Regions from separate parts of the Homo sapiens genome. Here all the other regions are linked to region 1. Evidence: promoter capture Hi-C in human tissues and cell types (Jung and others, 2019). All regions are on one chromosome and are shown on one strand. Each heading gives the region's core, a stretch centred on a gene start or on the middle of the fragment in contact. The rest is flanking DNA. Distances are from core to core; before and after follow the strand shown. Region 1 holds the start of ZNF503 (zinc finger protein 503). Region 2 overlaps KCNMA1 (potassium calcium-activated channel subfamily M alpha 1). Region 3 has its middle 120 kb from the start of KCNMA1-AS1. Region 4 overlaps LRMDA (leucine rich melanocyte differentiation associated).

Region 1 (3,337 bases), core at 480-2,979:
AGGTGGCGCTCGGTACCCGGAATCCCGACTTCTCCGACGAAACACCCCCGCCGCCGCCCCCGCCACCGCCACCGCCTCCACCGCCGCCTCCCGGCTCCTTCTTATCCGAGCCGGGTTTGGAGTACGGCTTGAAACTCGACTTGTCCTCCACGCCGATGTCGCTCAGCTTCAGGGGGCCCGATTTGGTGTCCTTGTCGCCCGCAGCACCGCCGCCGGCACCGCCCGCGCCGCCCCCGTTGGAGGCAACCGAGGAGAGTTTGGAGGAGGGCGAGGGGTCGGGCTTCCCGATCTGCGAACATGTTTGCGCCAACAGCGCCAGCGGGCTCTTCTTGGCATCGAGCTGCGGGGTCAGACGATGGGGGGGGAGCGTCACACAGAGAAAGAAGTGGAAACCCTTTAGAATCCTGGCTTCTGGGGTTCAAATGCCTCTCCGCAACAGCCCACGAAGATCCTCCCAGCCCCAAGGCGCAATTCTAGGCGGCACCCCCTCTTCAACACCCACTCACAAACATTCTCGCCGTTGGGAAAGGCAGCAGATTGCTCCCCCCGCCCAACCACCACCCCCAGCAGCATCTTTCCTGCCCTCTCTGAGCGCTAACTAGATTTTTAAAGAGCAAAATGTTTTGGTTTTCGGTTCCTAGACCCAGAACTGTACCCCCTCCCCACAAACACTCCTTAATTCTTCAGAGTAAGGGCTCGGGCGGCTGGCGCCTCAGAGGCTGTGTGCACACACTGGCTTCTGCGGATACGAAGGACGGCGACTTTGGAACCGTATTTCAGACCTCCGCCTGCCTTCGGTGCCGAGTGAAGGGGCCTGGGTCGGGGTAGGGGCTTTCATATCGAAAGGAGAAACAAGTATTGGCAGCCTTGCTCCCTAGCATGCACGCCCCATTCCACTTCCTCCCCCTTTTCCGCCCTAGTTTTGAGGTACGGAAGCAGTAGCCTCTTCCCCCATTCGGGAGCTGAATCACTCCGACCCCCCCACCTCCGCCCAGATCCCGAGAAAAAGAAAGCCCTAGGGTGGCAGCCAGGGTAGTGGTCCCAGTGCGATCCAGAGAGAGGGTCCTTACCTCGATGGGGCTGACCGGCGTGGAAGGCAGGGGCTGCAGGTACTCGGGGTGCAAAATGTGGCCAGTTCGTGCCGTCAGCATCTTCAGCACCTTGATTGGCAGGCGGTTGGCCTGGCGCAGGGGGTCAGAGGGGGGCACGGCGTGCACAAAAGGCTTGGTGCTGCCGGCCGGGGACGAGCCTGGGCCGGGGCCGGAGCTATTTCCAGAGAGCGCGCTGGTCCAGGCAGGGTCTGCACCGCCGCCTCCGCCTCCGCCGCCGCCGCCGCCGCTGTGCTTACTGCTTCTTAGGGCAGAAAGCGAGGGCGCTGTGCTCATGACCCACCCGCGCGCATGGGAGCAGCGGGGGGGAGGGCTCCGGGAGGCGCGGGGCGGGCTCGGGGCTGCGCGCTCGCCCCGGGAGCAGGAGCAGCGGGAGGAGGAGGAGCTGGCGCGGCGGCCACGGGCGCCCAGCGCGCCTTCTCGGCGCCTGGAGCCAGACGCGAGTAATCCTGGGTGGCCCGCAGCGGAGCCGTGGCCGGGCTAGAGGAGCCGGCTGGACTGCGGGAGTGCCGGGCGGCTCGCGGTGTCCGCCTCGGGCTGCTCCCCTGCGCTGCGTTCTCGCGGCCCCGCGCCGGCGCTGCGCTCTGCGATGCGAGCCGCTGCGTGTCCAGCCGGGGCTCTGGCGAGGAAACTCACTTCAAAAGCAGCTGCACCAAGGGGGAGATTAAAGCCTTTGCCGCCTTCCAATCAAATGGGAGCCCGAGGTGATTGGAGGGTCAAGGGGATGTGACGCGTCCCGCGCCGCCGCCGCCGCCGCTGCCAGGACTCTCAGTGCCGGTTTTAATGGGCAGCTCCCTCTTCGCCGCCCCCCTGTGTGTCCCCTCCCTCGATTTCGCTGGGAGGACGAGATGGACATTTATTCTACGTTTGCCATCCGCCGCCTCCCTCTTTTTTCCTCCTCGTCGTTCTTCCTTTCCCCAGCTCGAAAATAAACTGAAACCTTCTTTTGAAGGGGGGTGCGCGTGAGGAACAGACTGCGGGGGGTGTCCAGAAGGAGCACCGGTGGGAGTGTGGACACCGGCCGGACTGTCAACTCCAGGGGCGAAGGGAACCTGCACACCCAGTGTTTTTTCCTTCGCAGTAATCGAGATCCCGCGCGGCGCAGCGCAGCCACCAGGGTAAGAAGGCAAGGTGGGGAGCCGGAGCTGGAAGAAGCCCGCCCGCCCGCTCTAATTTCCTCAGATTCCGCGGCGGAGAAACCAGAAGCTAGATGGGCAGTCGCAGCGGCGGCGGCTCAACACCGCGAGGAGCGCTGGGCTCTCCGCCCTTCCCGGCCACGTGACGCCCGGGGACGCGTAGATTGGGGCAGCAGCGGGGGTCACATGTTTCCTCTGTTTCACCCTCAGTCTGTCCCCCAACCCCCCATTCTTACTCTCCCACCCTGTTTTCCTCCCTCCCCCCCTTCTTTGGGCATCTCCACCCCTCCATCAATTGTCAATGTTCCTCGACCGCAATCAATCAGTTATTTGTCAGCTCTTGTCAATCCTCCCGTGATTTATGTCAGCTTTTGTTGCTGATTACAAGGCGGGTGCGACTTGAAGGGAAAAAGAGAGAGGGAGAGAGAGACGGAGAGGAAGGAGGAGATTGAGAGGGAACTGGAGGAGGGGAAAAGAGGAGCGGCCTCCTGGGATGGGGGTGGGGTGGGGGCTCTAAGAAAAAGAATGAAAGAGGCGCACGGTGTCAGGAAAATGAATAGCGAGAGTAAAGTGCGCAGGTGCGCCCAGGGCGCCGAGAGGGGCGCGCAGGCCTGGAGTGTGCGCCTGCCCTCTCGGTGTCGGAGAGACGCCCTTCCACCTCTGGGAGCCTCGGTCTGTTGGGGTCGCGGAGTTCGGGCGCGGCTCCGGGTACCCGAGACCAGCGGCGGCAACTTCTAACACGGGAGATTTCCCGCCACCCCACCCCGCCGCCGCGAGTCCTCGCGGGGCGTGTTGCGTGCGGAGGTCAGGCTGCCACCCTCTGTAGTTCCCTAACCCCAAACTCGGAGACTTCTAAGAGCCACACCACCAAGGAACTTCTAGTCCTGGAGGTCAATGGTGGGGCAAACCTCGCCTCAATTCTTTGACCCCCTCGGGTCGTAAGCAGGGCTAAGAGGCTGCGAAGAAGAGGCCTGGCCATGGGTGTATGGGGGAAGAAACATCTCAGGCTCACTCATGCCCCCTCCCCGACCTTCTCCCACCTGCCGCCATCCCCGCAGGCTGGGGAGCCAGGGTAACTCGGGGCTGCTCTCT
Region 2 (3,337 bases), core at 303-2,802, 1.7 Mb after region 1:
TGTGTTTTAAGCAAATAATCATGAATTGGTTGATATCTTCCTCACTGTTTCTGAATAATTACAACACAGAGGTTTGCCAAACACATTCAGGTTGCTATGATCATGTGATTACTGACCAGGGACTGTCTGGATCCCAGGCCGGCTGAGCTGCTTTGAGTTGGACAATAACCACAGCTAAAATCCTCCTTAATTTCTTGAAGATGCTGCATCAGCACTCATTGGAAAGAGAAAAAAAAGGAACTGACAACCCCTTCTAAACATACAACATTAATTTTCCTATTCAATCTAAATTCAGCCAAAAATCTAAACAACAGCTTAAAGCACTCCCACACTAAATGAAATTTCAGATCACAAATGAAAGAAGGAGAGCTCGTTGCTGCAGGAGCTGTCACTAGTCACAGCCTTGCTAATAAAATTCACCTCCACCTACAAGGGCTGCCATCAAAAACTTCTCCAGCTTGACACCCGTACATTACCAATATCCTCACTTTATCTCTTCAGTGTCCTTGGGTTTTCCAGAGACAAACAGGCGAATGTGACCTTGGGTGCCCACCACCAAATCCGTTGGCTGGAGAACAACACGTTCTGCAAGGGAGCCACCTGCCGAGGGCTGGGCAGTGGCTGGCAGCAGTCAGCCGTTCTGGATGGTGGGCCAGTCACTGACAGCAGGCTCCACTCAGTGACAGCCTCTGATGGGCCTCCACACAGCAAAATGGGCCAGCACTTGCCAGCAATTAAGAAATAACGGCATGGCACTGGTGCATTTGGCAGAATGGGGTTTTTCTCTGCATCACCTGACTGCCTATTTCATAGGGAATATGGCCCATAAGAGGGGGTACGCTGTTACTCATAACCCAGCAGCGAGTTATTCTGTACAGACAGGACACCTGGCTCCAGGTACTGGGCAGCCTCCGGTTTCTAGGTTTCATTAAGGACATAACTGGTACTGCATCAAATGGAGAAAGGTGCCACCTTCCCTCCCCTAAAGCTGTTTTTTTGGAAGTTTATTGACTGGCTGAGAGAAGGAGCACTGCCTTTGAATGAGACACTGGACTCTGGTTTACTGAGAAGTAATCACAGGGAAACAGCATAGACTCTGACTTTTGTCTTCTTTCTAATCAATCCCCCACTGTAAGCTATAACACAAGGAAAATTCCTTTCTCTTTAATCTCTGGATAGCTTACTATTTTCCTGATTCAACTCTGCAAATTCTCATCTCGACTCTGGGAATGTGTCCCACATTACACTCTTACAGAGCGCATTATGCACTCACTAGTTCACCTGGTCTCAGATAGAGAAATCCTATCACTCACTTGCCTGGAGCATTCTACACCTTAACTGCTAAATCCCCGAGGACACAAAATAGGGCTTCTCCTTCACTGATATTCCTGTGGGTGTCAGGGAGAGTGCTAATCACACAGTATGTATTCAATAAATATTTACTGAATAAGTAAATGACTGCAGCACATACAAATAAAAGTTGTTGTAACTTAAGTATGGATGGGATCCAAGAGTAAATCAATAGTTCTGAACCTCGGGTTCCAATAGACACTTCCCGAATGAATGAATCAGTACATGAAGGAGCATCCTTCCAGTGACCAAATGCAAACACGTTGTTTGGACTAAAGAAATGGGCCAGAGGCGTGGTGGCTCATGCCTGTAATCCCAGCACTTTGGGAGGCCGAGGCGGGCAGATCACCTGAGGTTGGGAGTTCGAGACCATCCTGACCAACATGCAGAAACCCCATCTCTACTAAAAGTACAAAATCAGCCTGGCATGGTGGCGCATGCCTGTAATCCCAGCTACTCAAGAGGCAGAGGCAGGAGAATTGCTTGAACTTGGGAGGTGGAGGTTGTGGGGAGTCAAGATCATGCCATTGCACTCCAGCCTGGGCAACAAGAGCAAGACTCCATCCCAAAAAAAAAGAAAGAAAGAAAGAAATGTCCCAGGAAGATTTTTAACAATCACACCTCTTTACCCAGGTCTTTGAGTTGCGCACATGTGGGCATGTGAGAGTGTGTGTGTGTGTGTGTGTGTGTGTGTGTGTGTGAGCCTGTATAATGAGGAAGAAGAGGCTGGACCTGTGGATGGGTCTTCAGACCTGGAGCGGGCTCTCGCACTCCTACCTTGTTGTGATACTGCAGCATTTGAGTGATGATTCTTATCTTCGGATGGTAGTTCTTTATGGAGATTACTCTGAAAAAGAAAGAACCAATGCTGAGACAGGTCTGCCTTATGCATGGTGTCTGACAAAAAGATCAATTTTACTGTCTCCAAATGGGGTACCCATGGGACTGAGGTAGGAGGCAGGACTTGATTCCAGAGGCAGGGCTCAGATACCAGACAAAATTGAAGACTAGCTGAAACAGGGATGGGGCAGAAGCAACTTTTCACTGGACAAGCCCAGCAGTGTGCCCTGTCAGTTTACCATTGCCATGGCAACACCCAGGAGGTTCCCTATAACCTCTAGGCCCTAGAACATTACTATTACTAGATCATAGGGGATTGAAATGCTTCATATTTCAAGCCCGTTGTCCAATTATGAAATCAACTATCTCTTGGAATATGTTCATAGTGACATAACTTTACAGGCACATACCAGGTCCTTTCCTGAAAGCAAGTTGTAATGCATGGATGAATTCCAGTCCCAGTTCCATCTCTCACTACATACAATTTGGGGAAGCCACCATGAGGAACAAAGAAGGCCATGAAAGAGGAAACCCTTTAATATGATTGCCTAAGTGTCTGGGTGGACAGTGAGAAAGAAAGCTCAAAGAACTTGCTTCTATCTGCACTGGGCTCATGGGACTTGCCTTTCTATGGCAATGACCCGGTGACCCAGAAGTTACTACCCCTTCCCTAGAAATTTTTGCATAAGCTGCCCCTTAATCTGCATGCAATTAAAAGTAGGTATAAATACGACAGCCTGCCCAGAGCTGCTACTCTATGGTGTAGCCCCGCTGTGCAGGAGCAGTCACAGAGCTGTAATACTACTGCTTCAATAAAGCTGTTTCCTTCTGCCCTACCATCAGCTTGCCTTTGAATTCTTTTCTGGGGGAAGCTAAAAACCTTCATGGGCTAAGCCCCATTTTGGGGCTCACCTATCCTGCATCAGGACCAGCAGCCAGGGCTATCCTGAGGGGTTGCAGACACTGGGCCAGGTTAAACAGTATTCCCACCACCATATCTCTTGCTAGTGTGAAAACAAAATCACAAAACAGCCACAGTCTGTGTCCTGGGCATGAAAAATTTGAGGGCCCCTTGGAATGCATTGGAGATGGGATGTATGCATGTGCGTACTGGGGAGTAGGGGGCCTGGAGCAGGGGCTGCCAGCT
Region 3 (3,337 bases), core at 465-2,964, 1.4 Mb after region 1:
ATATTTCCAGGCTTCTTTCAGAAAATTAAAGCACAGGGTCCCTACACTTCTGGGTGGTTATGTAACATCTCTAGGCCTTGATTTCTTCTTCTTAAAATGGGGATACTAATGCCAGTTTTGCAGATCACTATGAGGATGAGAATAATATTGTAAAGAACTGGTCACCACAAATGGCACATAATAGTTGCTCAATAAATGACACATGTCATCATATGTGTATATACATATACACATAAATATACAACACACTTATACACACACATTTAGTTGTAGTAATAATGATCATATATATGATTATAGTAATAACAATTATCAAAAATTACAACTAGATGAATGAGGTTTGCAATTGAATATTTATTTAGATACATGGGTACTATTTTTTCTCAGGCATAGGCTACTTGGAAAGCAAGAATTCAGTAAATGATCCATTCAACTGTGTTTTATACCTGATTCTATAGTCATGCATTGTGTAATGACATTTTAATCAATGTCGGACCACATGTGCAATGGTGATTCCATAAGATTATAGTGGAACTGAAAAATTCCTGTTGCCTAATGATGGAACGGTGGTAACATAAAACAATGCATTACTCATGTAATTGTGGTGACTCTGGTATAAACAAACCTACTGCACTGCAAGTTGTATAAATGTGTAGCACATACAATTATGCATAGGACATAAATATTTTTTTTTGAGACAAGGTCTCACTGTCACCCAGGCTGGAGTGCAGTGGTGCGATCTTGGCTCACTGCGACTTCTGCCTCTGGGGTCCAGTGATCTCCCCCCTCAGCCCCCACAAGTAGCTGGGACCACAGGCTTGCACTACCATTCCTGGCTAATTTTTTGTATTTTTAGTAGACACTGAGCTCAAGAGATCCACCCACTTTGGCCTCCCAGAGTGCTGGGATTATAGGCTTGAGCCACTGCACCTGCCTCATAATACTTGAAGATGATAATAAACCACCATGTTACTGATTTATGTATTTACTATACTATACTTTTTATTGTTACGTTAGAGTATCTCCTTATATTACTTTTTTAAAAAAATTTAGCTTCATAACAGCCTTAGACAGGCCCTTCAGGAGGTAACCCAAGAAGGCATTGGTATCATAGGAGATGACAGCTCCATGTATGTTATTGACCCAAAAGACCTTTCAATGGGACAAGATGTGGGAGTGGAAGACAGTGATATTGATGACCCTAACTCTGTGGAGGCCTAGTCTAATGTGTGTGTCTGCATCTTAGTTTTTAACCAAAATATTTAAGAAGTTTTAAAAAAGTTAATAGAAAAAAGCTTATCAAATAAGGATATGAAGAAAGAAAATATCTTTGCACAAGTGTGAGCTGTGTTTCTGTTTTAAGCTGTTACCACACAAGGGTCACAAAGTTTTAAAAAAATTAAAAGTTTATAAAGTTAAAAAGTTACAGTAAGTTAACGTTAATTTATTATGGAAAAAGAAAAATATTTTTGTAAATTTAGTATAACCTCAGTATACTTGTTTATAAAGTCTACAGTAGTGTACAGTAACGTCCTAGGCCTTCACATTCACTCATAGCCTCACCCAGAGCAATTTCCAGTCCTGCAAGCTCCATTCATGGTAAGTATCCTGTAAAGGTGTACCACTTCCTATCTTTTATGCTGTATTTTTACTCTTCCTTTTCTGCCTTTAGATACACAAATAACATTGTGTTATCATTGCCTACAGTATTCAGTACAGTGATATACTGTAGAGGTCTGTAGTGTAGGCGCAATAGGCCATACCATATAGCCTAGGTGTGTAGTAGGCAATACCATCCTGGTTTGTGTAAGTGCACTCTACGTTGTTTGCACCACCATGAGATGGCCTAATATCACATTTCTTAGAACATATGCCAGTCTAAAACTACATATATATATATATATATATATATATGTATGTATGTGTATGTATGTATGTATATATATATATATATATATATATATACACACACACACACACATAAGAAAACTTAGGAGCTATATGTAATACTTATAGAGGAAGGGTTAAAAGAAATAATTCTCCATGAATCACTTATTAGTAGTAATAGAATGATAGTGGTAGTAGTGATATTGATGGCAACACAAACTATACCAAGTGTTTTCCAGTTTATCAATTTATGTTCATTCAAATACTCCTCCTTTCCAACACTTTAAAACCACCAAGCAAAATAACATTTAATCTTAGGTCTAAGATGAACAAATTGAGAATTTGAAAAAATACATAACTTGACTCTTTTTTTCGTTAAATATGTTTCCTAACTTGTCATGTACTCAGTGTAGTGCTATATGTTTTGGGCACAAAGAAGACTAACACATGATAACTGGGTACAGGGCATTCAAACTGAGATAAAGCAGTATTTTTCAAGGGGCCACCTGCTATGCCCTAACAACAGAAGTTTCTGGGTCAAAAATGTGTGAATTTCTACCTACCACCTATTACCCTGATGGAGATCCACAATGCACAAAGGCATATTCAATGTGCTAAGAAGTCCTAGAGAGACCTCATTGACTCTGCATTTCAACAATGAGTTGACCACAGACTCTCTTTGTTGGAAAGACATTTATTTATATCATTTGGGAAATCTTCAGTAGAAGGAAATGGACATATAAACACATGCACCGACCTATGATAAAGGCTGAGGCAGCTTGGTGGCCTGAACAGCCTGGGAGCAGAGAGGATAGAAGGGTCTGATCTGCCTCTGCATTAACCAAGGAGTCAAGAAAGGCCCCCACCTTTGAACCAAGGTCATGGAGAAAAAGGGAGGACATCCTGGGATCATCCCAGAGTGTCTTGAACTAAACTGCAGTGCCCTTAGCAAAAAGAGACAGACTTTCCAAGTTTACCCTTTCCACTCAACAGAGATGCTCCAAGAAGGGTGATGTCCTCAGGTTCTTGTTCTCTTTGGGAAGCTCAGCATTGGTTTTTCAATATGCAAAACAAGGAAGTTGAATTTGGTCATTTCTCATAATATGCTGGTGTTCCATGATTTGTGCTTTAAGTATAGAGTATGCACAACTCAATTAAGGGTTGATGGCCCACAGGTCATCACAGCAGGCATTTCTGTTGTGGGGATAAGGATGACCCTAAATCCAGAGCCCATAAGTGGAGCACTTTATTAAGATGCTTATCTCACTAACGGTGAAATACATTGATTTGGACCATTGAGGAGCCAGGCCATATCATAACAGATACCTTGAGAAAGAAGCTTCCAGGTTAGACTTGACTGGAACATCAAGTTTGGAACTCAAAAAGCCATAGGATAAATGGGGTGAAATCTCCACTTTTGAGGAACTTTATCCTACCAACAGGTAATTCT
Region 4 (3,337 bases), core at 571-3,070, 1.1 Mb after region 1:
GAGTGAGAACATGCACAAACCTCTACTTTTAATCATTGTGGCCATCACATAACCAAAGTGTTAATTCACGGCTTGACTATGAATTCTTCTCATAACCTTCTGGGCCTTCTGTTTGGTAAACAGAGAAAGTTAGTTCCTTTATACATTTATTTATTCATTCATTCAGCAAAGATTGGAACCATATTTTGAATTGTAGGACATGCAATACAGGTTGTGGTTTCAAAGATGAGTCAGACAGTATCCTTGGGTTCAAGTAAATTTCTTTTAAGAGGGAGTAATAGCAATCAAATGCTTGACTGTGCTGCAGTGGGATATGTGTAGTGGTTGTGTGATGGGTAGTGCACAGAAAGAGAAAACAAGGAACCATTAATTCTGCCAAGGGGAAATCAGAGAAGTCTTCTAAGAAGAAATGGCATTTTATTTGGGCCTTGAATGATAAGGAGAGTTTTATTTGGCAAAGAGGAGTCTTGTCATGTGAATCATCATGGGAGGTTTGGAGGAACAAGCCATTTCAGCTTTTCCTAGGGTTAGAACCTTTACTTTAGGAATGCATTGTTTTCTTCTTTTGATTGGGAAAACCAAAATCTGAATGGTAAATTTAAAAGTTACATTGCTTTAGTTATCACAGTTCTTCTAATTGTGTGTTTCTCAGATGAATATGACATGCCTCTTACGATCTTGCTACAGAGTGGATTTTATGTTAAATTATGGCTTCCTGGTGATTCTCAGAGTTTTATATCCCATTTTTATTTAAATTATTTTCATAGTTGTAATAACAAATAAATTTCTTATTCAAAGAAGATGCAGCCTTTGAAATGGATCTTAATTTGAATGTTGACATTCCAGTAACAAAACAAAAATAACCACTTGTAGATGGAGAGCGAGAGCGAGAGTGAGAGAGAGCGAGAGAGAGAATGAATCACAAACACCTGTAAAGTGTAACTATTAGTTTCAAATAGGATATTATTGAATCTGTCCTAAAACCAGTTGATTGTGATTATTCTAAATTTTACCTTGAGTATATTGACCATGACAGGCCAACTTCAGTTCCTATATCCGGATTCAACTGGATTCATTGCACTTTGATTCTACCATGAAAAACAATGCCTTTGTGTAAAGTCATGAGCACTTCTTTCCCTTCTTGGTTAACTGTGTTTAGATCTTTATCATATAAGACCTGACTTTATGTTCATTGTTGAAATTGTTGCTGGTTTCTTTTGCTCTTACACACCCATGCTGGCCTCCAAGAACAACTTGCTGTCATTCAGGAGCTTGCAAACTCATTGCTTTAATTAATTAACGGAGGCTCTTTGGAAGTTAGGGTCATTTGTTTTTAATTTTCAGTTAAAGGCACCTATGGATTTCTATTTTAAGAATAGACACTGTCTACTTTACTTGCTTATTATACTTTGATACTAAAATACAGCTATAATGGTTCTGCAGCATTGCCAGTTATTTAAGTATTCCTGAGTATTTAGGTAAAGGCTGGATGGCTTGGAACTACTCTAACATGGCAAAATATGTCATCAATGTTTTGCTCCAAGAGTATCCTGTAATGTATATGCTCAACTTGAGAAACAAAATATATTATAATTTTAGGTTTCAAAGCATAAATCCTTAACATATTTACTGGTTACTACATGCTGGGCACAGTGCCAGGCTCTTAAGTGACTGCAGTAGACTGTAGACAGATCAGACTTCTTGTTCTCATGAAGCTTGGAATCTAGTGGGATGCTCATTCATTGACCTATGAATACGTACTGTGTTATGTGCCAGACACTGTGATAGATCCTGTGCTTTGCCCCACAGGTCAAGGCACTAATATAGTATTATGTTTGGTACATAGTTGGCCCATAACTCACAGTAAAATTAACCTTTCCATTCTCTTTAACATATTACATTATTACATATTAAGGAAGAATGTGAAAAAATGTAATCATAATATCAGAGATTGCTTTTTGCTCACAAAAATCCACATTTTCTCCTGCTTTTGGGGTACCAAGCTAGACTTCATTTCATTCTCCTTTGCAGTTAGGAGAGGTCACATGAGTGTGTCACACTCGTGAAAGATATGGCCACATGTGTGTATTTTAGCCAATGAAATGTTCGTGGAAGGGATGCGTGGCAGTTCATGACCAAGGCTTTTGAGAAATGGCTGTGCCTCTTCCACATTCTTTCCCTTTCCACTGGCCTGATGCAAATGAGAGGACTCAATAGGAGAAGGCAGAGCCACAAAAATTACACCTGGAGGAAATTGCCTGTATTGGCCTTTTGAGTAAGAAAGATGTAAACTTCTATTGTGTTGGGCCACTGAAATTTTGGGACTTATTTGTTACAGCAGCTTGTATAATCCTTGTTAATGCAGTAACAGGATAGTTATAAGATGGCTCATTATAAAAATTATGACAGATTATCAAGGCATATTCCAAAAAATATTATCATTTGGCAATGATAATACATGTCATTCAGAAGCTGAAGTTTCTCATTGTCACCTTGCGGGGGTATATTGACAAAGATTATTATTGCCATTCAAAATATGAACACTGGATCTCACATAAGTCATGTGACCTGCCAAAATTTGCAAACCTGAACTACAGAGGAGCTAGTACCAGCATCTAGGTATTCTGTTTCTTAGTTCTATCCACCCACCCCATTATACTACCTCCATGATATTTATGTCTAAAATTATTATAGTTGTTTGTTTCTAAATTTTGTCTGCTTGCTTTCCTTGCCTGTCTTCCACCAGCAGATTATAGTGTCTGTGACCTAAGACTTTGCTATGTGCCAGGCAATAGCCTTGCATATCCTCACACAGGGATACACTGCCGTATCCCTAGCTACCAGGATATTGCCCAGCACATCGTAGACTCTCAGTAAATAGTTGTGTCATGTAAGAAAGCATGAGTCCATGACCAGAAAATAACTTTTCAAGTCAGGCATTTTGTAATGCAAATTAAACATGGGTCTTATGCATTTTTGTGAAAGAAGGAGGGAAGGAAGGAATAAAAGAAGGATGCATTATATATGTGGAATATATGCTCTTGAGGGGGTTGGAAGAAGAGGAAGGCAGAGGATGAAGGCATTGAGGTGGGGAGGGACAAATAATTTCCCATTCTTAACTAATTTTTTAAACAACTGATTGCTGTTTGCAGAAGATGCGTTGGCCTAAAATGATCATAATCTTTTGTTAGCTTATAATGCTTAAATAGGTCACTTAAATAGGACTCTTCTAATAGAAGAGAAGCCCATTATACAGATTAATAAAAATTGATAGAGACTTGAAAACTGCTCATGGGGTCAGTTATCTCCAATTAAAAGTTCATATGCCAAGAAAAAC

What was found. Contacts are between HindIII fragments. The study calls those that stand out against the background at their distance.
Region 2: a fragment that was not itself captured here is called in contact with the fragment with the promoter of ZNF503 in region 1 in 1 of the 25 tissues and cell types used here (lymphoblastoid cells).
Region 3: a contact is called between a fragment that was not itself captured here and the fragment with the promoter of ZNF503 in region 1, in 1 of the 25 tissues and cell types used here (dorsolateral prefrontal cortex).
Region 4: a fragment that was not itself captured here is called in contact with the fragment with the promoter of ZNF503 in region 1 in 1 of the 25 tissues and cell types used here (dorsolateral prefrontal cortex).

Annotation. Positions count from the first base shown.
Region 1 is chr10:75,400,035-75,403,371 of GRCh38, forward strand. ZNF503 (zinc finger protein 503) reads right to left here and starts at 1,730. Exons shown (of 2, transcript NM_032772.6): 1 at 1,071-1,730; 2 at 1-340. The coding sequence starts at 1,385. ZNF503-AS2 (ZNF503 antisense RNA 2) reads left to right here and starts at 1,494. Exons shown (of 2, transcript NR_024421.1): 1 at 1,494-2,227. RefSeq lists an enhancer at 732-1,232. The HindIII fragment of the contact is 17,931 bases long and covers 1-3,337 here.
Region 2 is chr10:77,077,354-77,080,690 of GRCh38, forward strand. KCNMA1 (potassium calcium-activated channel subfamily M alpha 1) reads right to left here. Exons shown (of 28, transcript NM_001161352.2): 13 at 2,128-2,197. Among named protein-coding and RNA genes, the nearest start is that of KCNMA1-AS2, 62 kb to the right of the region's middle. The HindIII fragment of the contact is 7,464 bases long and covers 1-3,337 here.
Region 3 is chr10:76,769,915-76,773,251 of GRCh38, forward strand. No RefSeq gene overlaps it. Among named protein-coding and RNA genes, the nearest start is that of KCNMA1-AS1, 120 kb to the right of the region's middle. The HindIII fragment of the contact is 4,891 bases long and covers 1-3,337 here.
Region 4 is chr10:76,532,259-76,535,595 of GRCh38, forward strand. The region is part of intron 6 of LRMDA (leucine rich melanocyte differentiation associated); the gene reads left to right. Among named protein-coding and RNA genes, the nearest start is that of KCNMA1-AS1, 350 kb to the right of the region's middle. The HindIII fragment of the contact is 3,476 bases long and covers 83-3,337 here.